Regions from separate parts of the Homo sapiens genome. Here all the other regions are linked to region 4. The links are contacts of gene promoters, found by promoter capture Hi-C in blood cells and fetal thymus (Javierre and others, 2016). All regions are on one chromosome and are shown on one strand. Each heading gives the region's core, a stretch centred on a gene start or on the middle of the fragment in contact. The rest is flanking DNA. Distances are from core to core; before and after follow the strand shown.

What was found. The method cuts DNA at HindIII sites, captures the fragments that hold promoters and counts their contacts. A CHiCAGO score of 5 or more calls a contact.
Region 1: a contact is called between the fragment with the promoter of SPATA31F1 here and the fragment with the promoter of PIGO in region 4, in 2 of 17 cell types (M1 macrophages and M0 macrophages). The highest score is 5.2, in M1 macrophages.
Region 2: a fragment that was not itself captured here is called in contact with the fragment with the promoter of PIGO in region 4 in 7 of 17 cell types (endothelial precursors, M2 macrophages, M0 macrophages and 4 more); the score reaches 10.4 in endothelial precursors.
Region 3: a fragment that was not itself captured here is called in contact with the fragment with the promoter of PIGO in region 4 in 2 of 17 cell types (M2 macrophages and M0 macrophages); the score reaches 6.7 in M2 macrophages.
Region 5: the fragment with the promoter of CCL27 here is called in contact with the fragment with the promoter of PIGO in region 4 in 1 of 17 cell types (neutrophils); the score reaches 5.9 in neutrophils.
Region 6: a contact is called between a fragment that was not itself captured here and the fragment with the promoter of PIGO in region 4, in 5 of 17 cell types (M1 macrophages, M0 macrophages, megakaryocytes and 2 more). The highest score is 9.3, in M1 macrophages.
Region 7: the fragment with the promoter of RUSC2 here is called in contact with the fragment with the promoter of PIGO in region 4 in 9 of 17 cell types (megakaryocytes, monocytes, erythroblasts and 6 more); the score reaches 11.0 in megakaryocytes.

The regions. Positions count from the first base shown.
Region 1 is chr9:34,727,669-34,730,900 of GRCh38, forward strand. It overlaps SPATA31F1 (SPATA31 subfamily F member 1), which reads right to left and starts at 1,820. Exons shown (of 4, transcript NM_001141917.2): 1 at 1,616-1,820; 2 at 941-986; 3 at 354-414. The coding sequence starts at 1,759. It also overlaps a transcript of PHF24 not described here. The HindIII fragment of the contact is 7,130 bases long and covers 1-2,372 here.
Region 2 is chr9:35,467,302-35,470,353 of GRCh38, forward strand. It overlaps the pseudogene ATP8B5P. Among named protein-coding and RNA genes, the nearest start is that of RUSC2, 21 kb to the right of the region's middle. The HindIII fragment of the contact is 5,907 bases long and covers 1-3,052 here.
Region 3 is chr9:35,573,128-35,576,209 of GRCh38, forward strand. No RefSeq gene overlaps it. Among named protein-coding and RNA genes, the nearest start is that of CIMIP2B, 11 kb to the left of the region's middle. The HindIII fragment of the contact is 7,332 bases long and covers 1-3,082 here.
Region 4 is chr9:35,095,341-35,098,321 of GRCh38, forward strand. It overlaps PIGO (phosphatidylinositol glycan anchor biosynthesis class O), which reads right to left and starts at 1,251. Exons shown (of 11, transcript NM_032634.4): 1 at 815-1,251; 2 at 1-226. The coding sequence starts at 225. PIGO-AS1 (PIGO antisense RNA 1) reads left to right here and starts at 964. Exons shown (of 2, transcript NR_186491.1): 1 at 964-1,080; 2 at 2,420-2,804. RefSeq lists an enhancer at 918-1,257. The HindIII fragment of the contact is 7,045 bases long and covers 1-2,981 here.
Region 5 is chr9:34,661,288-34,664,513 of GRCh38, forward strand. CCL27 (C-C motif chemokine ligand 27) reads right to left here and starts at 1,370. Exons shown (of 3, transcript NM_006664.4): 1 at 1,277-1,370; 2 at 997-1,129; 3 at 603-792. The coding sequence starts at 1,346. The coding sequence ends at 657. IL11RA (interleukin 11 receptor subunit alpha) reads left to right here. Exons shown (of 13, transcript NM_001142784.3): 13 at 195-615. The coding sequence ends at 211. It overlaps LOC730098, which reads right to left. Exons shown (of 3, transcript NM_001320038.2): 3 at 2,876-3,226. The HindIII fragment of the contact is 12,066 bases long and covers 102-3,226 here.
Region 6 is chr9:35,546,103-35,549,365 of GRCh38, forward strand. It overlaps RUSC2 (RUN and SH3 domain containing 2), which reads left to right. Exons shown (of 12, transcript NM_014806.5): 2 at 328-2,433. The coding sequence starts at 420. Among named protein-coding and RNA genes, the nearest start is that of CIMIP2B, 16 kb to the right of the region's middle. The HindIII fragment of the contact is 7,783 bases long and covers 1-3,263 here.
Region 7 is chr9:35,488,479-35,491,405 of GRCh38, forward strand. It overlaps RUSC2 (RUN and SH3 domain containing 2), which reads left to right and starts at 1,633. Exons shown (of 12, transcript NM_014806.5): 1 at 1,633-1,694. LOC105376026 (a long non-coding RNA gene) reads right to left here. Exons shown (of 2, transcript XR_929580.4): 2 at 2,641-2,778. RefSeq lists a silencer at 1,302-1,601. The HindIII fragment of the contact is 5,552 bases long and covers 843-2,927 here.

The sequences.
Region 1 (3,232 bases), core at 570-3,069, 370 kb before region 4:
AGAGAATAAGACAAGGATGACTTCTTTATTCAAAACCCATTCTCTTAACTGGGTAACTTATCTCATGGCTGAGTGCAGCTCCATGTAATATGTTTTATGAATTATACACTAGTAAAATCCTGAATTGTAGAACTGCTGTTACCCTAGCACAGAACTGAACTGGGCAGCTCATCTCTCCTGAGACATGTGAACCCCACTCTTCCCTGGCAACCCTCTCACCCAGTGTCCCTGCTTCCACTGTGTATGTCTCCCTCCCAGCCATTATCTTTCTCCTTAGTCCTGCCCCAGGCCAAGCCAAGAAATCATCATAGGCCAGGCTGGTTGTTGATAGAGTGCAAAGAGCAATAGATCACCTTTTAATGATGGAGAGCAGCTTCTGTGGCTTCTCAGCTTCTTCCCGGGAACGTCTCCTAGCTGAGGAACGGGGAGACAGTGTTATATGGCATGGGATAATTTCATAGGCATCCTATAGGAAGCTGAATAGTAAGGCCTTTGACTCTCATCAAGAAAAGACTACAATCCTGAAAAGTCCGTACTCTAAGGCATGTCTGAGTACAGCATCGCTGTAACACAATGTCCCATATCTAATTTCATTTGATTTTTACAACCACAATGTGATTGAGGCAGGATTGTCAGTGTTTTGCTCATTTTGTGGATAAGAATGAGAGATGAAATGACTTCCACAGGGTCATAAAACTAGTAAGTTATACAATTAAGAACATCTGCTCTACTTTCTTAATTCTTCATTTCCAGGGCATTGAGGTACAGGATTTTGGAACATTCTCAAGTTATGATTTCCCACCCATGGAAATTTCAGTCTGGGGAACTGGAGTCTTCAGTGGCAGAGCACCTGGCTCTTGGCTCCAGAGGTCACAGAGGGACAGGATTCATGGGAAACACCCACAGTGGAAGGGAGTCAGAGGAGAGATTGGGACTTTACCTGTTGATGCTGCATCTCTAGCTCTTTGCCTGACTTTTTGGTGACACTTAGAAGACAAAAACATTAGAATGTGAAGCTGGGACACCATTTTCTTTCTCATGTCCAAAATGAGACAAAACTTACATACATTTTTCACTCGCTTTGTATATATCTATCTGTATTTTATACACTCTCCTGGACTTCCTTTGCCTATTCCACCTTTTTACCCCATTTTCCTTCTCTGCTTATTTTGGATTCACTTGGAGGCTTTTCCAAATTCTATACCTCCCATCTGATTCACAGAGAAGTCCTGCTGGATGCTGAGGATGACACAGGAGGAAAAGCAGAACAGACAAAAGGGTAAATGGTTCTAACAACCAAAGGACTTCTGCTTACAAAGCCCACCAACCGGAAAAATCCCCCATATTCAGAGAGCTTCCGAGATCCAGCAAGATAGACTTCATATTATCTAGTTCTCAATCCAAACCAAATAGAGAGGTTCTTGGCTTTTCAATCAGACTATGTTGCGGGAAGGGCCTGGTAAGGAATTATAGTCTCTGAGAAGAAAAGTATTACACAAAGGTAACTGAAAGTATGCTATAAAAATTCTGGGGTGGGGATTATAAGGGAGCACGGTAAGAACTTATAGGCTTCTTATCTGAGGCTTAATTAGTTCAGTTGGGATCACAGCCCTACCCGGCAGCAGCTCCTTTTAGGTTCTGAACTCAATTCATGGTGGCTCCTTTTCACTTGCCAGATAATTACAATAACGATGAAGATGGAGCCATAGATGTATAAGGGATATCCAACTTCCCACAGAACAAAAGTAGGGCTCAACATGGTCTAAACTTCATTAGCATGAGATCAACCATCCCTCTATCTCGGAATTCAGGGTTCTGGTGCCTAATGAATCCCAGTGCTAGGCCTTGTCATGTCCACCTCACAGAGGACGGAACTAGGCCACCAGACTGCATCACAAAGCCCTCCTGTTTCATAAGGTACATGTAGTAGGGAAGCTCATGTGGTGATTCAGTCTGTAGATGAGGGTGTTTTGAGCCTGGGACTGAAGGTGCCACAAGCAGTGTCTATTTCCTAGTCTGTCTTCACTTTCCACTCCCTATACCAGCCTGATGCCTCGGCTCTCTCCTTCACAACTGTATGGTCACCTGTCCTCAGAAAACTGAGTGCTTTGGCACAGGGGTCACCTCATAAGAAGGGGTAGATAGGCCGGAGGAACCTCCACTAACTCTCCCACTAGTTTTGGTAATATACCTGAGAAACACACATGAATTTAGGGAGGGCGGAGTCTGGTTATGGCTTGGAAATGGAGATCTTTGATGTTTTAGGCAATGGGTGATTGGTAACAGAGGTGCAGGAAGGGGACCATGGCTGATGTGGTAGGGTGGTAGGGAGAGGCCAAGGTGGTTGTACGTATCTGGTCTGTGTGGCCTCAAGCTTGCAGATGGGTTGGGACTGTAAATGCTACCTTCCATGGAGGCACATTCATGCTCAGGGAGATGAATGCCTGCAGAGATGGGTTAGTGGCCGCTTCTGACTGTGGGTCACAAGTGACTAGTTGCTGTTCATGGTTGGATGTATGCTGTTTGCCTGAGGATGTTTTTTTTGTTTGTTTGTTTATTTTTCTCAAATCTGTATTTTGTAAATTTTTAGGCAGGGCATGTGTTTTCCAATTCAGCTTCAGGACCCATTACTTCCATAGCCAGACTATTGATTTACCTGCCTAGCTTTTGTAGATATTGTGATATGCCACCAACACCTCAGTATTCCTGAATTTCCTTGAGAGAGTTCTGCTCTGGTAATGGTGGTCTCAGGCCAAGAAACCTTTGGGCTGAAAATCTCTGAAGAGGCTTTGGTCCTTCCTCAGTATCCAGCCCACCCAGCAGATGTGGTAAGCACCCAATATGTGCTCAGCCCTAAGCTGGGGAGTGTTGAGGATACAAAGACATTTGAGCCGCATTGGCTTTCTGCTTTCAAGATACTTAAAAATGTAGTTTCAAAGACAAGACTAATTCATACAAAGCAAGAGCCAACAATCACTACAAATAGACTTATATACTCATTCGTAAGGCTCTGGCCACAAACATTCCATTTCAGAGAAGAGAAATCATAGTGAGGATCATGGTCATCAGAGAGGGCTCCTGGGTAGTCGAAGTTAAGTTTAACAGTGCAGGTTGTGGGTAAAAGGACTCTTCCTGGTGGGAGAAAAACTTACCAGCTCATGCTGAATCTAGGGAATGGGCCATGGAGTTCATTTGGCAATAACAAATGCAGTGTATCTCTAGCAGAATATAG
Region 2 (3,052 bases), core at 478-2,977, 370 kb after region 4:
CCAAAGTGTTGGGATTACAGGCGTGAGCTGCTGCACCCGGCCACACATAATAGATTTTTAGGGCCAAGCGTGTAAGTAGCATAATCACTTCCACCAGCATTGCATTGGCTAGAACAGAGTTACATGACCCATATAACTGCAAGAGAGCTTGGGAAATGTGCTCTAGATATGTGCTCAGAAGGAAAAGAAAATAGAATTTAATGAATACATATCATTATCGCTGCCACAATCTACCCTTCTGATCATCATACCATTTCACTTTTCCTCCCACATATGGAACACCCTCATCATCTCCCCCAAATCCTACCCAGTCTCTGCATCCAACTCAGAGTCCAAGATCTCTCACTGATGCACAGTCCTCTCCATCAGATCTAAATGAAGTTCCTCTTGGTCTGGAGATGTGAGAGGATCTCCTTTATTCATTGCTCTCAGTGATTTCTGGCTCCACTCCTGAGAAGTTTTCCCTCATTCTTTATCCTTGCTGACCAACCCTGAAGTGGATGTTGGGGAGTATGCTCTTCTTAGGGACTGCAGTTTTTATAACCTGCTTCCTGCCCAGTGTGGTTTTAAGGATTTCCAAACAGTCACAGGCTTTTTTAGACCAGGCTCATAGTTATCTAGTAATACCATTCCTTCAAAACCCATAAGGCTTCTCATCTGTTTGCTTCCAATTAGTTTCATGTATCAGTAACCCCCTGCCCCCCAAAATTCTTTCCTAGACGTAGTTTTTGAGTTTATCCTGTTTCTTTGCTTCCTTGCCCCTCCATGCCCTTCTCTCTCAACTTACTGGCAAGAAAGTTGAGGCTATGCGGAATAATAGTCATGGGTAAGAAGGTATCACCTTTAACCTGAACTTTGCCCGAAGGCTGAGTCACTTTATTCAGTTGAAAACAATTATTGGGCCTTTTTTGCTTAAGGTCTCAATCTTATCTCTTCCTGTTTAGTGTCTAGAAGTCGTAGTTCTTTGATGCCCCAAATTTCTGTACCTCCTTATTTCTGCCTACAAATTGGCTAATTCTTTCCCTAGTTTAACTTTAAAAAAAATTTTTTAGTACAGATGAGGTCTCAGTATGTTGCCCAGGCTGGTCTCAAATTCCTGGCCCCAAGCAATCCTCCTGTCTGGTCTTTCCAAAATCCTGGGATGGCAGGCATGAGTGACTGCACCCAACCAACTCTTTCTTTTAATACCTGTCAAAGGCAGTCAATACACAATGATATTTTGATTCTTTTTAACCACTTCTCTTAGAGCTGCAGGTTCAGTAGGCATATGGTCTACCTTTCAGTTTTATCAAATTCTTTCATGTTAACATGACTACCATATTTTCAGCCTTTTATATCAGTTTCCTTATCACCCACCCCCTAACTGCTAAGCCCCACACGTTTTAGACTTCTGTTAAAGCAGCTTCAATAATGGAATGATTACGTGCTTGGGTTCTGGAACTGGTTCAAAACCTGTTTCTTCTACTCAGTAGCTAAGTGACTTTAGACAAAATTCTTTCTCACTCTTAAGTTCCTCATCTATTATTAAAAGAGGATTATTGTAAATATTAAATAATATGTATAAATACTTAGCATAGTACCTAGCACTTGGTTAGTTATTACTATGTTTTATTACTATTATCTCCCTTGAAAATCCCAAGGAGGGCTTCTGCTGGACTTTCTTTTCTGTCCTATGTACTGCTGCCTAGAGACTGTGAACTATAGGGCCTCCCTGCCCTCCTAGGAGAGGGACGCTTTGCTGAGAGATAAGGCTCTAGACTGTAGAACTGAAGCAGCACATATGTTGGATAAAATGTTAATTTAATTCTTTTTTTTTTCATGTATCGATTTTCCTGGTTTTAGGCATCGTGTGTTTTGTCCTAGCAGTTGGGCATGGCATTTGGCAGAACAAGAAATGCTACCACTTCCAGATTTTTCTGCCATGGGTAAAATATGTCTCTTCATCAGCTGTCTCTGCCATCCTCATATTCTGGTCCTACTTCATTATTCTCAATACCATGGTGCCCATTTCCCTCTATGTCAGGTAGGCTTCTTTGATCACTTTGGGGTGTGGGGGAGGAGCTGACTTCATACTGTCTACTTAATTCCCCAACCAGAGTGTGAACTTTTAAAAAGCATACACTTGTGCTCTTTAACCCCTCACTCTCCACAGTAGGTGGTGTACAAAATGCTCTGAGATATATCTAGAGGTTGCATAAATGCCTTCCATGTCCAGAATACTGTGCTAGGAAGACACTATGTGGTTTATACAAAAAGACAGTTATCCCTGCCCTCAAATAACTTATAAAGTAAGTGGCTAAATAAGACATAAAAACACATGAAATAACTAGAAAACATACACACAAATTTGGTGATGCTTAAAGCATGGGTAGTTTCCCCAGGAAGATAGGCCAGGCAGCCCATAGTTTACCAATGAGATAGGTCCAAACATTCACTTGTAAGTCAATTAATCAGAATTCAGAATCCATTTTCCCACACAAACAGTGTGACAGATGGTAGATAGGTGTAATTGTGACCTAAGTTCAACTCCTAAAAGTTGTGGAAGAGAAGAGGAAGGGTTTCCCTTCCTCTTTTTCATAAGCACCTTGAATGAAAATTTGAAATAGCTGAAAAAAGTATTTACCCTACTCTGATCATCCTTTTCTGGGTTCTGCATTTCCTTACACATACACACACCCAAACACATTTTAGTTTCCTCCTTTCCAGGCTTTCTAAACCCTGTACCGGGGCTTTTTGGCAATAAAAAAAAAAGGACCCTATGTAACTAGATTACCTTATTTAGTAATATTTATTGAGTATCTACTATGTGCTAAGGTTTAGAGAGATTGCTATGGTGGCTGATATGGTAAAGGATGGGAGGGGTCCCAACTCCAGGCATAGAGATTATCAGTAATGAGTCAATGATGAGGACCTGAGCACCTCCTTCCTCACCTCAAAGGAAAAAATCCCCATCTGTCAGTGCAGCTGTCTCAGACAGGGATTACTAATAATCACTCTTATAATAAAGCAGACTAACACACATTAAGTATGAATGATGATAAGAAGGAGACCC
Region 3 (3,082 bases), core at 566-3,065, 480 kb after region 4:
TAATATTGTATTATTATAAAATTTTTTTTAAATTATACTGAAAAATGTATATTTAAAAATTTGCTAACAGGGTAGATTTTTTTTCCATTATGCTCTTCTAAGATACTAATAAACCATAAGATGGTAGATCTTATATTAAGTGTTCTTATCACTAAATAAATTGGGCAGGAGGAAACTTTTGGAGATGATGGATATGTTTACGGCATTGACTATAGCGCTGGTTTCATGGTTCTATACTTACCTCCAAGTTCAAGCTGTATACACTAAATATGTATTGTAAGTCCTCAGTATTGTCAATAGGTTCTTGGAAATTGCAACTTTCAGAGAAATGATGTGAAATGATGGGTACGAGAGTTTACCGTACATGAGGAGAGCATGCAAACTCCATATAGACAGTGGTCCTGGCCTGAATCAACCTTTTTTTCCCCTGGCCAGGTGCAACGGCTCACGCCTGTAATCCCCATACTTTACGAGGCTGAGGTGGAAGGATCACTTGAGCCCAGGGGTTCAAGACCAGCCTAGGCAAGACGGGGAGACCCCCCTCTCTACAAAAATAAAAAATAAAATTTAAAAAATTAATTTAATTAAAATTAATTATCTGGACTAATTAGCCAGGCAAGGTGGTACACACCTGTAGTCCCAGCTACTCAGGAGGCTGAGGTGGGAGGACCGTTTGAGCCCAGGAGTTTGAGGCTGTAAGTGAGCTATGATCACACCGCCACACTGCAGTCTGGGTGACAGAGACCCGGTCTCTATAAAAATAAAAAGTTTAAAAAATGATAAAAATAAAATATTTTTTCATATCAATGTTATAAAGTAACAACAGTGAGTGAAACATCATTTGAGAACCTGCTGTACAACTTTCTGTATGTCAATAAAGTGATTTTTTAAAAAGGGAAATCATCAGAGGCCAAAAACTAGGCAAAGGATAGAAGGCACTTTTGGCTTAATGGCATTGGCCAAGCCACACAAACTTGGAGGTTCATTTTCACAGGTTCATGAAGTACTGAGAAAAGGAGATAAAACTCAGTGACCACCCAAGATGGAGAGTCTAACAGAAAATTTTTCCTGCATAAAACTGGCATGCATCAAGTTATGTCCCTTTAGTCTTTTTTTTCTTTTTCTTTGAGATGGAGTCTCATTCGGTCACCCAGGCTGGAGGGCAGTGGTGCAATCTCGGCTCACTGCAACCTCCGCCTCCTGGGTTCAAGCAATTCTCATGCTTCAGCCACCTCAGTAGCTGGGATTACAGGCGCCGCCACTACACCCAGCTAATTTTTGTATTTACTTTAGTAGAGACTAACTTTCACCATGTTGGCCAGGCTGGTCTCAAACTCCTGACCTCAAGTGACCCGCCTGTCTTGGCCTCCCAAAGTGCTGGGATTATACACATGAGTCACCGCACCCCACCTTGCCCCTAGAAATCCATCTGCCCCCCAAATCCTTCCTCAGGGGACTACAAAGAAAATTGCCTATCTCAAAACTTGGTACCAAGTGAAAAAGGGGGACATATTTCCCCTAAAACTTCATAACTACAAGCTGGCTCATGCGTGATTTGCAGATGGAATTCACTCTACCTGAGTAGTCTGAAATACTATCAAGATAATGAGGTAGGAGGTGGGACTGGACTCCAGAGGCAGGGCTCAGCAGCGGACCAAATTGAGGACTAGCTAAAACAGGGATGGGGCAGAAGTGGTTTTCCATATGACATGGCCACCAGTGTGCTATGTCAGTTTACCATTGCCATGACAACACCCAGAAGTTACCACCCCTTTCCACAGCAATGACCCAATGAACTGGAAGTTACCACCCTTTACATACAGAAATTACTGCATAGTCCACCCCTTAATTTGCATGTAGTTAAAAGTGGGTATAAATCTGAATGCAGCACTGCCTCTGAGCTGCTGCTCTGAGCATACAGCCTATAGGACAGCCCTGCTCCACAAGGACCAGTACCTCTGCAGGTTTATTAGGATCTTGGAAGAGCATAATGGGAAAAGAAAGATGTACTCTGTTACCAAATTTTTTAAGTATACACTGCTGCTTCAATAAAAGTTGCTGTCTAACACCACTGGCTCATCCTTGGATTTTCTTTCCTGGGCAAAGCTAAGAACCTCCCAAGGCTAAGCCCCAATTTGGGGGCTCACCTGCCCTCCCATCATCTGGTGATCAATGAAAGGAAAAAGATAATGAGCAAGAGGCAGCAAGTCAGTGGAGACAGTGGCAGTCAGCAGACAGGTGAGATGGTGGGACAGCAGAGACGGTGGCAATCAGCGGTCAGTGGAGAGGTGACGACTATGAGAGACAGCAACTGGGAAGACAGTGAGAGACTGACAAGACCAAGCAGAGACAGCGAGAGACCGCAAAGCGGTCTGTGATCAAGGCTGCAAGAGCTATAACACTGAGGCTGTAACAATAAAGAGCTGCTAACACTAACCAAAGGCTCTTTTCAGAGCCATCATTTTCCCTGGCAGGCGGCAGGGCCAAGCAGACACACTAATGGCCATAATGTCACTGCCTCATGTGAGCTCTGACCATGGCAGGCCAGTGGGTTACCAGTCCCTATGCTTGCCCCCTGTGTGACAGCTGAGCCCACCCAAGCTGGGGGGTCCTGGAGGGACCTTCACCAGGGTCCCACATGAAAGACTGGCTGGTGCCATTTGGCTCCTATGGATGGGTAAGTGTCCCTTCTTCCCCTACTCCATAACATCTAGTGAGCTGGGGAATAAAAAGCCTTCGGCTAAGTGGTTAAAAGTCCCCCACAGTATGAGTGCCCTGAGGCACATCCTTGTGACCTCTCCCCCCTGTGCTTTCTTCTCTGACTCCATATTATTGTTCCACCAATCATTTTATTTTTATTTCGAGTCCAAAAATTTACGTTTCATTTGAAGCGTTATGTTTCCTTTTGACTTTCTGTTAACTGTGTTTGAGCAATTGTTTAAGGCTGGATGTTTAGTTGTGCTCTGTTGCGTCAACTCTGGGACACCAGAGTCACATTGTTCTATGACCCCAACTTGGTCTTGGGTTCACTGTTGGCCACTCCCTTGGTGCCCCCAGGTTTTTGGCATTTGGTGAGGGGACC
Region 4 (2,981 bases), core at 1-2,500:
TATCAGCACCAACACAACCCGCGAAAATCGGGAAGCCATCCAGCAGGCCCCAGGTTTCCCTTGGCTCCCCCATGGCAGGGACCCAGGGCCTGGGGGCTCTTGGCAGCTGCTATGGTTGGTGAGCTCCAAACGGGTGAGCAGGAAGCCACTGGTGAAGAGGGCAATGCCAGCGTAGAAGAGGAAGCAGACCCAGGCCAGGAAGAGCAACACTGAGGCTTTCTGCATCCTGATAGGGGTGGGGAAGTAAATTCATTACTGTGGGGCAAAGAACCAGTGGATATTCTGGTCCCTGAATACAAGCCCAGCTAGAATCACTTCCTCCCGGAAACCTTCCTGGAGATAAACCATTTCACAGCCAACCCCTCGCAATATTACTCTCCTCCTATTTCCAGGCTGGGCATGGTGGCTCACGCCTGTAATCCCAGCACTTTGGGAGGCCGAGGCGGGCGGATCACCTGAGGTGAGGAGTTCGAGACCAGCCTGGCCAAAATGGCGAAACCCCGTCCCTACTAAAAATACAAAAATGGGTGGCGGGCACCTGTAGTCTCAGCTACTGGGGAGGCTGACGCAGGAGAATCGCTTGAATCGGGGAGGCGGAGGTTGCAGTGAGCCGAGATTGAACCACTGCACTAGAGTCTGGACAACAGAGGGAGACGCCGTTTCATGAGGTCCCACCCCAGATCTACTGAATCAGGATCTTCGAGGGGTAGAGCATAGGAACGTTCACATGTACAGGCAGGAAATGCTAATGCTGCCTGTACATGTGAACAGTCAGGAGGGAAACTTATTCCAATTGGTAGTCAGGCTCTCTTACACGCCGTTTCTGCGCCTCTCCCCTCGCCAATCTCAATACCCAGTGGAAAGGGATCGAAGCCGCAGGGGAATCCGGGCCCAGCCGACGGCGCCGCCTGGCGGGCACCGAGGGGACGAAGGGGAGGAGTCACTCTCCGCTTCCGGGCGGCCAGGTTCGCCAGGAGACCTGAGGCACGACCTTCGCCACGCAAGGAGGCTGGGGCCCGGGTCGAGAGTCGACTGGGCCTCCGCTGGGACCCAGGCGTGCGACCGGCTCTGCCTCCTCCGGTAACTACCCAGCCTCCCGCTGGGCACCCTAGCCGCGGTACTGAGCACCTTGGTTAGGAGCTGAGGGGAAGAGGGAGACTCCCTTACTTCAGGGTGAGGGGAATACCGGGGGGTGAGGTTCTCGGGAGACCCTGGCTCACCTGCAATGGCACCCGGAAGTGCGGCGGCGGCGGCGCCTGCGACCTGGCAGCACAGAGATGCGTGCGCCAGACAGAGTGGCCCGTCGGTGGCTCCATCGCCATCTGCCGGCACCTCGGTGGAAGTTTGGCCAGGAGCGTGGGGCTGGCCCCAGTTTGATGGGATATTTAGTAATTGAAAATTGGGGACAGGGGACCAAGCTGGAGGAAGAGTTCAGGGAACCACTGTCCATTCATGGTTACGACTAAGAGCACGGCTGCTGGAGTCAAACTTGACTTGAATCCTAGCTTGGCCGCACATATTGTCATCATTAGGCATTACCTCATCTGTAAAATGGAGATAATACTTATTTTCCCTTTTTTGCTTAGCTGAGTCCAACTGAGATTTCATTACTCCTCCTTTCAAAGCCTGTAACTAAATCTTACGACTGAATAATTAAGCAAATAATCCTTCGGAGTGGAGGAGGGGAGGCTGGGCCCAGTGGTTCACACCTGTAATCCCAGCACTTTGGGAGGTCAAGGCAGGTGGATCACCTAAGGTCAGGAGTTCAAGACCAGCCCGGCCAATATGACGAAACGCCGTCTCTACTGAAAATACAAAAGTTACCCGGGAGTGGTGGCGGGCGCCTGTGATCCCAGATACCTGGGAGGCTGAGGCAGGAGAATCACTCGAACCCAGGAGGCAGAGGTTGCAGTGAGCCGAGATTGCACCACTGCACTCCAGCCTGGGCAACAGAGCAAGACTCCCTCTCAAAAAAAAAAAAAAAAATGCCAGGCACGATGACTCACACCTGTAAGCCCAGCACTTTGGGAGGCTGAGGCTGGAGAATCAGTTGAAGTCAGGAATTGGAGACCAGCCTGGCCAACATGCTGAAACCCCAACTCTACTAAAAATTACAAAATTTAGCCAGGCGTGGCGATGTGTACCTGTAGTCCCAGCTACTGAGGAGGCTGAGACTGGACAATTGCTTGAAGCCAGGAGGCAGAGGCTACAGTGAGCTGAGATCGTGCTACTGCACTCCAGCCTAGGCAACAGAGCAAGACTCTGTCTCAAAAAGAAACAAAACCCGTCCACTGGTTTCTCATCTCAGAGTAAAAGTTCTTGCATTGGCTCTACATGGCCCTGCACACTATCTGCCTCTTCCCCTTCTGATTCATCTAGCTGCCACTTCTTTGCTTCCCTAACTCTGTTCCATCCACAGCAGTTCTGCCTCAGGACCTTTGCATTTGCCATCTCCTCTGTCAGCTTCAGTTCCCGATGCCGAAATGGATCTCCATCACCTTCATATTGAAGCTCAACTGTAACATCAGCAAGGCTTCCTGCAATCCCCTACTTTACTAGTTCAGCACCTCCCACCACCACACCCCCTGGAAAAATTTCCCCTCACTTCCTTAATTTCTTCCATAGCACAACTCATCAGCATCTGAAATTCTACACGTATTTATGGTTTATCCCCTCCGAGTAGAATGTGAGCTCATTGAGGTCAGGGAATTCTGTTTTCTTCATGATATCCTCAGCACCTAGCATATATTTGAGGTTCACATACTGACCAAACGAATAAAGGAATATGTTAATTTTTAAAAAAAGTTGAGTTATTCTTCCACCTTCATCCCCATAGCCCCTTATCTCAGTTCAGACCTCATCCCTTCTCCAGGATCACTGAGGCAGCCTTCTCACTGTCCTCCCAGCCTCCTGTGTCTCCCTACTATCCCTTCTCCACATTGCAGCAAGACAGCTCTAACTAAAACATTAATGTGATTACT
Region 5 (3,226 bases), core at 120-2,619, 430 kb before region 4:
CTTAATGTGCCTGGGCCCAGAGCTAGGTCCACTCCCGTATCTTCAGTGTGTTGAAGAGGCTCCCTCAGAGCTGGGCTCCTCTACTCATCTTCAGAGTGTTAAGCTTAGAACTGAGTCACCTCCCTCATTCTCAGGGTGTCTGGGCCAAGATCCGGTCTTACTGTCTCTCCTGATTTGCCTCCTGCTTCTTCTAGGAGCTCCAAACCTGTAGAGGACCCAGGAGGGCTTCGGCAGATTCCACCTATAATTCTGTCTTGCTGGTGTGGATAGAAACCAGGCAGGACAGTAGATCCCTATGGTTGGATCTCAGCTGGAAGTTCTGTTTGGAGCCCATTTCTGTGAGACCCTGTATTTCAAATTTGCAGCTGAAAGGTGCTTGTACCTCTGATTTCACCCCAGAGTTGGAGTTCTGCTCAAGGAACGTGTGTAATGTGTACATCTGTGTCCATGTGTGACCATGTGTCTGTGAGGCAGGGAACATGTATTCTCTGCATGCATGTATGTAGGTGCCTGGGGAGTGTGTGTGGGTCCTTGGCTCTTGGCCTTTCCCCTTGCAGGGGTTGTGCAGGTGTGAATAAAGAGAATAAGGAAGTTCTTGGAGATTATACTCAGAAATTATTATCCAATGCTGCTTTATTATTTGGCTATTGGGGGCTTCAGCCCATTTTCCTTAGCATCCCAAAATTCAGCTTGGGCAGAGTCCCATGGAGCTTTCTCTCTTGGTGCTCAAACCACTGTGACAGGCTGGGGTTCTGGGGGTGGATGCAGATGCTGCGTTGAGCCAGGTGAAGCCTGGGTAGAGAAAGGTCCAAAGCTATGACCATAGCTTGGGGATGAGATTAGGGTCATCCCCAATGACCCTAATTAGGGGTTAGGAGCAAGGACCAGATGAAAACCTGAGTTGGCAACAGAATTAGCAGTTAGGGCTGGGGTTGGGATCAGCATTAGGGGTTGGGACTGAGGTCAGAGTCAGGGGTATCAGGGGTGGGAGCTCACACGAAAGCCTGGAGGTGACAGTCCCCGTCAGCCTCCTGCAGTTCCACCTGGATGACCTTCCTCAGTAGCTTGTCTGAGAGTGGCTTTCGGTAGAGCTGAGTACAGCAGGCAGTGCTGGGTGGCAGTAGGAATGCTAGGGGCAACAGGGCCATGTGTTCAGAGGGATCCTGACCAAGAACCTCTCTGCCAGACAGCTGGAGGTTAGGTTGGATTTCCTGGGTCTTTTCAACTTCATCCCATTCACCCAGACCCCCAGCTTTCTATACCCCCAAGTACTCACCTGCTGTAGGGTCTGGGCTCAGGAGCAATGACAGCAGCAGGAGGCTGCAGAAGGTTGGGGGCCCCTTCATGTTGCTCAGCCTAGACTCTTCCTTCTCTCTCTCTCCTCCTCCCCTACCTTTTATCTGGGTGCCTTTTACCTGGGGCACTAGGTGAGTCAGAGGCAGTTGGAGATGTACTGTGTAACCTGTGACACTCCTGGGCCCTAATTCTCGGCCTGTTGCCACAGACTCCTTCCTCATCTAGGATAGCCATTTCCCATGTGCTCCTAAGCTCTGGGCAGTGAAGCTGGGGGAAGGATTAGTGTGTGATGTAGGGACTGATGGAACAGTGAGTAAGGGCAGTCAAGCATCCACAGCAGCATCTAATGATAGACATTCACACTCAAATACGCATAGCCACACATTCAAAGTCACTCCTCAATCACTTGGTCAACCTCACAAAGTCATACTCATGATCAGACAACCGTAGACAAAATTATATAGCCCCGGTTATACTCAAAGTCCCTCTCCCACCCAATTGTGTTTTCACAGTCATCCAATCACAAGCAAATTCACACTAGCACACACAGATTCTGACAGGGGAGTTGTGGGTGGGGTGGGAGCAGAGGGCAGGCAAGCACCAACTTGCCTTCACCTTCTCCTCCCCACTTCCTGGCTTGGCCTGCCTGTCTTATCAGAAGAAATGGATGGGAATGGGTCCCTAGAGCAGGCCCTTCTGGCTGAGGAGGGTTCTTGGCTGAGGCCAGCCCCATTCAGAGAAGCTGGGGGAAGGCCCTTTATGGTAATATTAAGGGTGTTTTGGAGATGCTGAGGTGGGGCAGCTTTCCCCAGGATGATGAGACAGGGAGGAAAGGTGGGGTAGATAAGGAGGGAAGATAAAAGCTCTTTGGTGCTAGGTTACTGTTGTCAAAACAGGTAAAAGGCCCAGTGAATCTTACCTTCCTGTTTTTGTCTAGTCCTGTTCCAGGAATGCCAACCTCTTGCCAGCAGGGGCCTAGGGTCTCCAGATCCAGTCCCTGACTTGTTGAAGACATTGGACTCAAGCACTCAATTACATCTTTGTTTTACTCAAATTCCAGCCTCCTTCCTGGGCCTGGAGGAACATCCCCTCTCCCTACCCGGGTTCAGTCACACCCTCATGTCCAACTGCTATACCCCCTGCATCCCACCCTCCAGCTATAGCCGCTTCTCTCCTAATCCCATACCCAGCTGTCACTCCGTTCTTTACCCCCTCCCTGCAATGCAAAGCTCCTATTCATCTTTATCCAGTCCTTTCCAGGAAGCTGGGAGCTGCCTAGGGTGGGGGTATGCTGCCAAGTTCAGTGCCCCTGGCTCCTTTAAGAATTTCCCACTCCTGGTCCAGGGATCTCAATCTGCAAGTCCTGCTCTATATTTGAAACATAAACCAAGTCATAACACAGTAATCCAGCCCTTATCTTGTTGCAGTCGTCTGCTGTAGGGTCAGCCACTCTCTATGGAGTAGGCTTTCTCTTGGGATAGGGCTTAGGCCTTTCTCTTGTGTCCCAAGGCTTGTTGGGTGTAGCCACTGAGGAAATCCCAAGGAAATCTCCCAGGTTCCTCGGGCTTGTCATAGACCTTCTTCATCACTTGGCTGTGCGCTACATACTTTCTGGTCTTCCCTGGGCTTGTCGGTCCAGAAGTCTTCGGAAGGCAGAAAACAAATGCTTTTGGGTGTGCACCCATCTCTCCCCTTTAAGACCAAGTCTTCTCCCCAGCCACAATCTGCTGTAGCTTTGGCCCCAGCCAGAAACTGGGCCATCTCTTTCTTTAACTTAATCTTGTGGTGCCCTTTCTGGTGCTGGGTCCAGTCCCTAACTGAAGGCAGGCCCACATAGCAGTCCCTGATTCTCACCACTTGAGGAGTTAGTGGGTCCCAGGCTGATTGGGTGACAGAAGGGGGCGGCAAAGAGCAGTGGCCCTTGGACTCT
Region 6 (3,263 bases), core at 463-2,962, 450 kb after region 4:
TTTACTGCCAAGGAGAGGGTCCTTGAAAGAGAAAGGGAAAGTACTGCCCAAACCTTCATATGTGGCATTAGAAGGACTTGGCCTTTTGTCATAATTTGATGCATAGTGACCTTAAAATTAAGGGGGACCTCAGGTGCTGCACCTGTGCAATGCAGAAAGCATGGTTACGTCCCCACCTGCCTATTGGGCTGTGTGGTCAAGCTCCATCTTGACTCAAGCCTTTTCTCTTCCTGGGCTCTTCTCCATCTGAAAATGATGTAGGGAAGGGCATGCCCCTGACTTCCAGGGAGGTGACATTAGGTTCCCTTTCTTTCCCTCTCTCTCCAGGTGCCAAGCTCTCCTGATGAAATGTGTTCTGCCCCACTGGGCTCCAGGGACAGTGTCTGGTGCTGTTGAAGCCCTTATTCGAACTTTCCAGAATGGATAGTCCCCCAAAGCTGACTGGAGAGACCCTCATCGTTCATCACATCCCCCTGGTGCACTGCCAAGTCCCAGACAGGCAGTGCTGTGGAGGGGCAGGTGGAGGTGGTGGGAGCACAAGACCTAATCCCTTCTGCCCACCTGAGCTGGGCATCACCCAGCCCGATCAAGACCTAGGACAAGCTGACTCCCTGCTATTCAGCAGCCTGCACTCTACTCCAGGAGGAACTGCACGGTCTATAGACAGCACCAAGAGTAGGAGTCGGGATGGAAGAGGCCCTGGAGCCCCCAAACGACACAACCCCTTCTTGCTGCAGGAGGGTGTGGGTGAGCCAGGACTTGGTGACCTGTATGATGACAGCATTGGTGACAGTGCCACCCAGCAGTCCTTCCACCTGCATGGCACTGGCCAGCCCAACTTTCATCTATCCTCTTTCCAGCTGCCACCATCTGGCCCCAGAGTGGGCAGGCCATGGGGGACAACACGCAGTCGGGCTGGAGTGGTGGAAGGGCAGGAACAGGAGCCAGTGATGACCTTGGATACTCAGCAGTGCGGCACCAGCCACTGCTGCCGGCCAGAGCTGGAAGCAGAGACTATGGAGCTGGATGAGTGTGGGGGACCTGGTGGGAGTGGCAGTGGGGGTGGAGCCAGCGATACCTCTGGCTTTTCCTTTGACCAGGAATGGAAGCTCAGTTCAGATGAATCCCCAAGGAACCCTGGATGCTCCGGCTCAGGGGACCAGCACTGCCGCTGCAGTAGCACATCCAGTCAGTCCGAGGCAGCTGACCAGTCCATGGGCTATGTGAGCGACTCCTCCTGCAACAGTTCAGATGGTGTGCTGGTCACCTTCAGCACCCTCTACAACAAGATGCATGGCACCCCCCGTGCCAATCTCAACTCTGCCCCACAGTCCTGCAGCGACTCTTCCTTCTGCAGCCACTCAGACCCTGGCGCCTTCTATCTGGATCTGCAGCCCTCCCCATTTGAGTCTAAGATGTCTTATGAGTCCCATCACCCTGAAAGTGGAGGAAGGGAAGGGGGCTATGGTTGCCCTCATGCCTCTTCTCCTGAGCTTGATGCCAACTGCAACTCCTACCGCCCACACTGTGAGCCGTGCCCAGCAGTGGCTGACCTCACAGCCTGCTTCCAAAGCCAGGCCCGTCTTGTTGTGGCCACACAAAATTACTATAAACTTGTCACCTGTGACCTATCTTCCCAATCATCCCCAAGCCCTGCTGGCTCTTCCATCACTAGCTGCTCTGAGGAACACACCAAGATAAGTCCCCCACCAGGCCCTGGCCCAGACCCAGGCCCCAGCCAGCCCTCTGAGTATTACCTATTCCAGAAGCCAGAAGTCCAGCCAGAGGAACAAGAAGCAGTGAGTTCCTCCACCCAAGCAGCAGCTGCTGTGGGCCCCACTGTGCTTGAGGGACAAGTATACACGAATACTTCACCCCCCAACCTCAGCACTGGACGTCAGCGCTCCCGCAGCTATGATCGCAGCCTGCAGCGCAGCCCTCCTGTCCGCCTGGGCTCGCTGGAACGTATGTTGAGTTGCCCAGTGCGCTTGAGTGAGGGCCCTGCAGCCATGGCCGGGCCTGGCTCCCCACCCAGGAGGGTCACCTCCTTTGCCGAGCTGGCCAAGGGCCGGAAGAAAACTGGAGGCTCTGGCTCGCCCCCACTTCGTGTGAGTGTTGGGGACTCCTCCCAGGAGTTCTCACCCATCCAAGAAGCCCAGCAAGATCGGGGGGCCCCACTGGATGAGGGCACTTGCTGTAGCCATAGCCTGCCACCCATGCCTTTGGGGCCAGGCATGGACCTACTTGGCCCAGACCCAAGTCCACCCTGGTCCACCCAGGTCTGTCAGGGACCCCACTCCAGTGAGATGCCTCCTGCTGGCCTCAGAGCTACTGGGCAAGGCCCCCTGGCTCAGCTGATGGATCCAGGGCCTGCTCTCCCAGGGAGCCCAGCCAACAGCCATACCCAGAGGGATGCAAGAGCTAGAGCTGACGGTAAGGAGCCTAAGGGTTAGCAAATATGTGGCTATTCACCAGCAGGATATGCATGGCCACCTCCCTGACAGGTCCCTGCCAGACCACCCCATCCATACCACTAGAGGTTCCACATCCTAGATCTGTTATCCTTCTAGGCCAGGGCAGGACCCACAGCTACAGTGGAATAGGCTCACTGGAGAAAGACAGAGGACTCAAAAATACACTGAGCAGACTGGGTGCAGTGACTCACACCTGTGATCCCAGCCCTTTGGGAGGCCAAGCCAGGCGAATCACTTGAGGTCAGGAGTTTGAGACCAGCCTGGCCAACATAATGAAACCCCAGCTCTACTAAAATAAAAAATAAACTAGCCAGGAGTGGTAGCACCCACCTGTAATCCCAGCTACTCAGGGGGCTGAGGCAGGAGAATTGCTTGAACCCAGGAGGTGGAGGTTGCACTGAGCTGAGATCATACCACTGCACTCCAGCCTGGGCAGACAGAGTGAGATTCTGTCTCAAAAAAAAAAAATAAATAAATACACTGAGGAGATAAAATCAGCAGGACTTAGAGGCTGACATATTGGGAAATGAAGGATTCAGAAGACTGATTCTGAACCTGGATGATGGGAAAGATGAGGCCATGGATAGGGGCTGTAATCACAGGAGATTTCCTGGAAGAAAAGTTCAGGTTCAGACCTTTAGGAGTTTGCAGTGCCTAAGGGGCAACCAAGGGATATGTCTAACAACAACAACACACACACACTGGGCGTCAGTGAAGTTTTTTTTTTTTTCTTTTTGAGACGGAGTCTTGCTCTTTCGCCCAGGCTGGAGTGCAGTGGCCTCCCTAGGC
Region 7 (2,927 bases), core at 383-2,882, 390 kb after region 4:
AAGGAACAAAAGAAGGAAAGCAGGGATGTATTGAAAACGAAAGCACACTCCACAGTGTGGGAGCAGCCGGAGCAGCGGCTCAAGGGCCAGGAAACAGAATCTTCTTGGGTCCAAATACCCCCTAGAAGTTACCCGCCACTTCATGCTCACCTCATGTAAATGAATTCGTAGCCTGCAATCAGTCTGATTGGTTGCAGAAAGCAGCCAAGCAGAGGCTGAAGTGAAGTTACAAAGGTCGCACACCTGTGCAAACATCTGATTGGTTGCAAGAAGCAACCAATCAGAGGCTAGGGTGAAGTTACAAAGTTATACTTCTATGCAAAGTTAGACTCGGCTGCAGTCAGTCTAATTGGTTGCAGATAGCCAATTTCCCATCTGCTGGGCAGAAAAGTTGGGTGGGGGGTTTGTTACTTAGGTGTGGAAAGTTAGGGTTTTCCTTTCAATTTAGTTCCAGGAAGTTGGCATGAACCAGTCTTAGGTTCCCTGCCTCCAGTCCCTATTCTCCTGCCTCAGAACCATCACCCAACATCCCTAGTGGGTAGCAGGGGAGAACCCTCTCCTGCCCCGCTCATGCCTAACTACCTGTAACAGTTTGGCTGTGTCCCCACCCAAAATCTCATCTTGAATTGTAATTCCCATAATCCCCCTGTGTCAAGGGCGGGAACAGGTGGAGGTAATTGGATGATGGGGCTGGTTTCCCCTGCGCCCTTCTCGTGACAGTGAGTGAGTCCCACAAGATCTGATGATTTTATAAGCGTCTGGCATTTCCCTTGCCTGCACTCACTCTGTCCTGCCACCCTGCGAAAAGGATGGCTACTTCTTTGCCTTTTGCCATGATTATAAGCTTCCTGAGGCCTCGCCAACAATGCGGAACTGTGAGTCAGACCTCTTTCCTTCATAGTATTTCTTCATAGCAGTGTCAGAACGGACTAATACAGTGGGTTTCCCATAACATTTGCAGGACTGCCTGCCCCATCCCCCTCTGGCTGTAAACAGCAGGAGTCACACACAGGCATCTTCCATGTCCCCCACACATCCGGCCCTGAAGGGCAGGGGGCGCATGGGTTCTACGTTTCATCAGGGGTTCCGAACCCTGGCTATGCACTGGAGGCCAACCCCACCTCACCCCACCCCACTCCACCCCAGTGGTTCTGAGTCGGTCCAGTGTGAGGTCAGCCCTCCTTCTGTTGTTTGGTTAGTTTCCACACTAGGTTCTACTGGGAAGCCAGCGTTGAGAACCGCCGCCTCAGGCGAAGCTGGGACTCACACCCACCGGCCCTGGAGGCCCGCGGAAGGTTTCCCTGGGTTCCAGCACCCGGGAGCCGCGCGTCGCCAGGCACCACCCCGCGGGGGCGGGCGCGGGCCGCAGAAGATTGGGCCACGGCGGAAGCCTCTCCGCTCCCTTAGCGGGAAAGCTCTGCGCGTGACTCGGCTGCGCCCATCGCTGCGGGAGCCGGGGAGGGGGCGAGCACCTTAGGCCGGGCGGACCGAACCAACGCGCCGCCCGGAGGGGCGGCCTGAGGGCAACCCAGATCGGACCATCGCGCCACGCCGACAGGGGCCGGCCTTTCCAACCCGCCCGGAGGGAGGGGCCGCCGGCGCCTCTAGCCTGCAACGCGACCCCTGGAGGGCGAGACACGCCGCCGCCGCCGCCGCCGCCGGCGCGGAAGGACGAGGCTGAGGCGAGAAACGAGGTAGGAACGCCTCTCCGGAGGCGGGCAGGGTCCCACAGACCCACTGCCCCGCGTTCCAAGGTCTCCCTTAGGGGAGGGCCTGTCTTCCCACCTATGTGCCTTCAGCGCCTGCCCTTCCCTTCAGCCCTTCCCCCTCGGCTGCACCCGCCCTCTGCGTCCGCCCCGACCCCCTGGGCAGACCTCGTCCCCAGCCCTTCTGACCCTTGGCCTTCTCCTGACCCTTCAGCTCTGCGTCCACCGGACCTTCAAACACCCAGCACCCACCGTCCCTTTGGGCGCCACCCCAGATGCATCCCCAACCGTCTCCTCAAACTGCCCCCTTGGGGACACCCTCCCCCCACAAAACGACTCGCGCCCAGTAGTCACCTTGGTACCCCAAGTCCCTGTGACGGCTTTGGGGAAGCGTGGCCGCCCGGCACCCAGGCCGGCGACTGCAGCGGGGGCCTCCCTACTGCCAGTTCCCGGCCGGGTCCTCTGCTCCCTCCACCCTTTTAGCCCCTGCCTCCCTTTATTATCCGCCCGGCGCCGGCGTTGCTTCAGTCTCTGTCTCTCTGTCATCCAGTTTTACCTGGAGAAAACCTTTGGCTTGGCAGTAACCGTCCCCTACTACTGCACTCACTTGCCGCGAAGGGCACGGTGATCCTGTTGCCCACAGTTGGCTGTGGCCCTCCAGGCCGGCCCTGCGGACACGGGGAACTGTCCTGGGGGCAAGGACGGTACACTACTCATCTTTGTATCCCCGGTCCCCAGCACGGTGCCTGGCACATGGTAGTGTTGCTGGTGGAGGGTCTTCACTACCAGTTGTCCTTTGCGTTTTGAACAAGTAATTGAGCAGCGGAGGAATGAAACGCAGGAACAAGTAGATCTGAGTCAGGCAAGGATTACCACTATGTGAACAGTGTCCGTGATAAAGAACACAGGCCTTAAAAAAAAAAAAAAGGCGGAATTTACAAAGGACAAAGGGCCTGAAACCTGTTTTTATTTATTCCTAGGTGGGTGACCTGAGCAGATTTAGTTTCCTGGGGGTTTGGGTTCCACGCGGAAGCAGGTGGTATCGCTGAGGGATGAAACAATGGCTGGAAAGCTGTAGGAGTTGATAAGGTAGAAAGTAGTTACCTAATTAGTAGTGGCATTATTGTAACTGGGGCTCAAAGTATTAGCAAATAAAAGTAGTGACTGGATTTTCTTAGCCGGCTCCTTAGATATTAAGCAGTGGTGGATGGCTTAATGGAA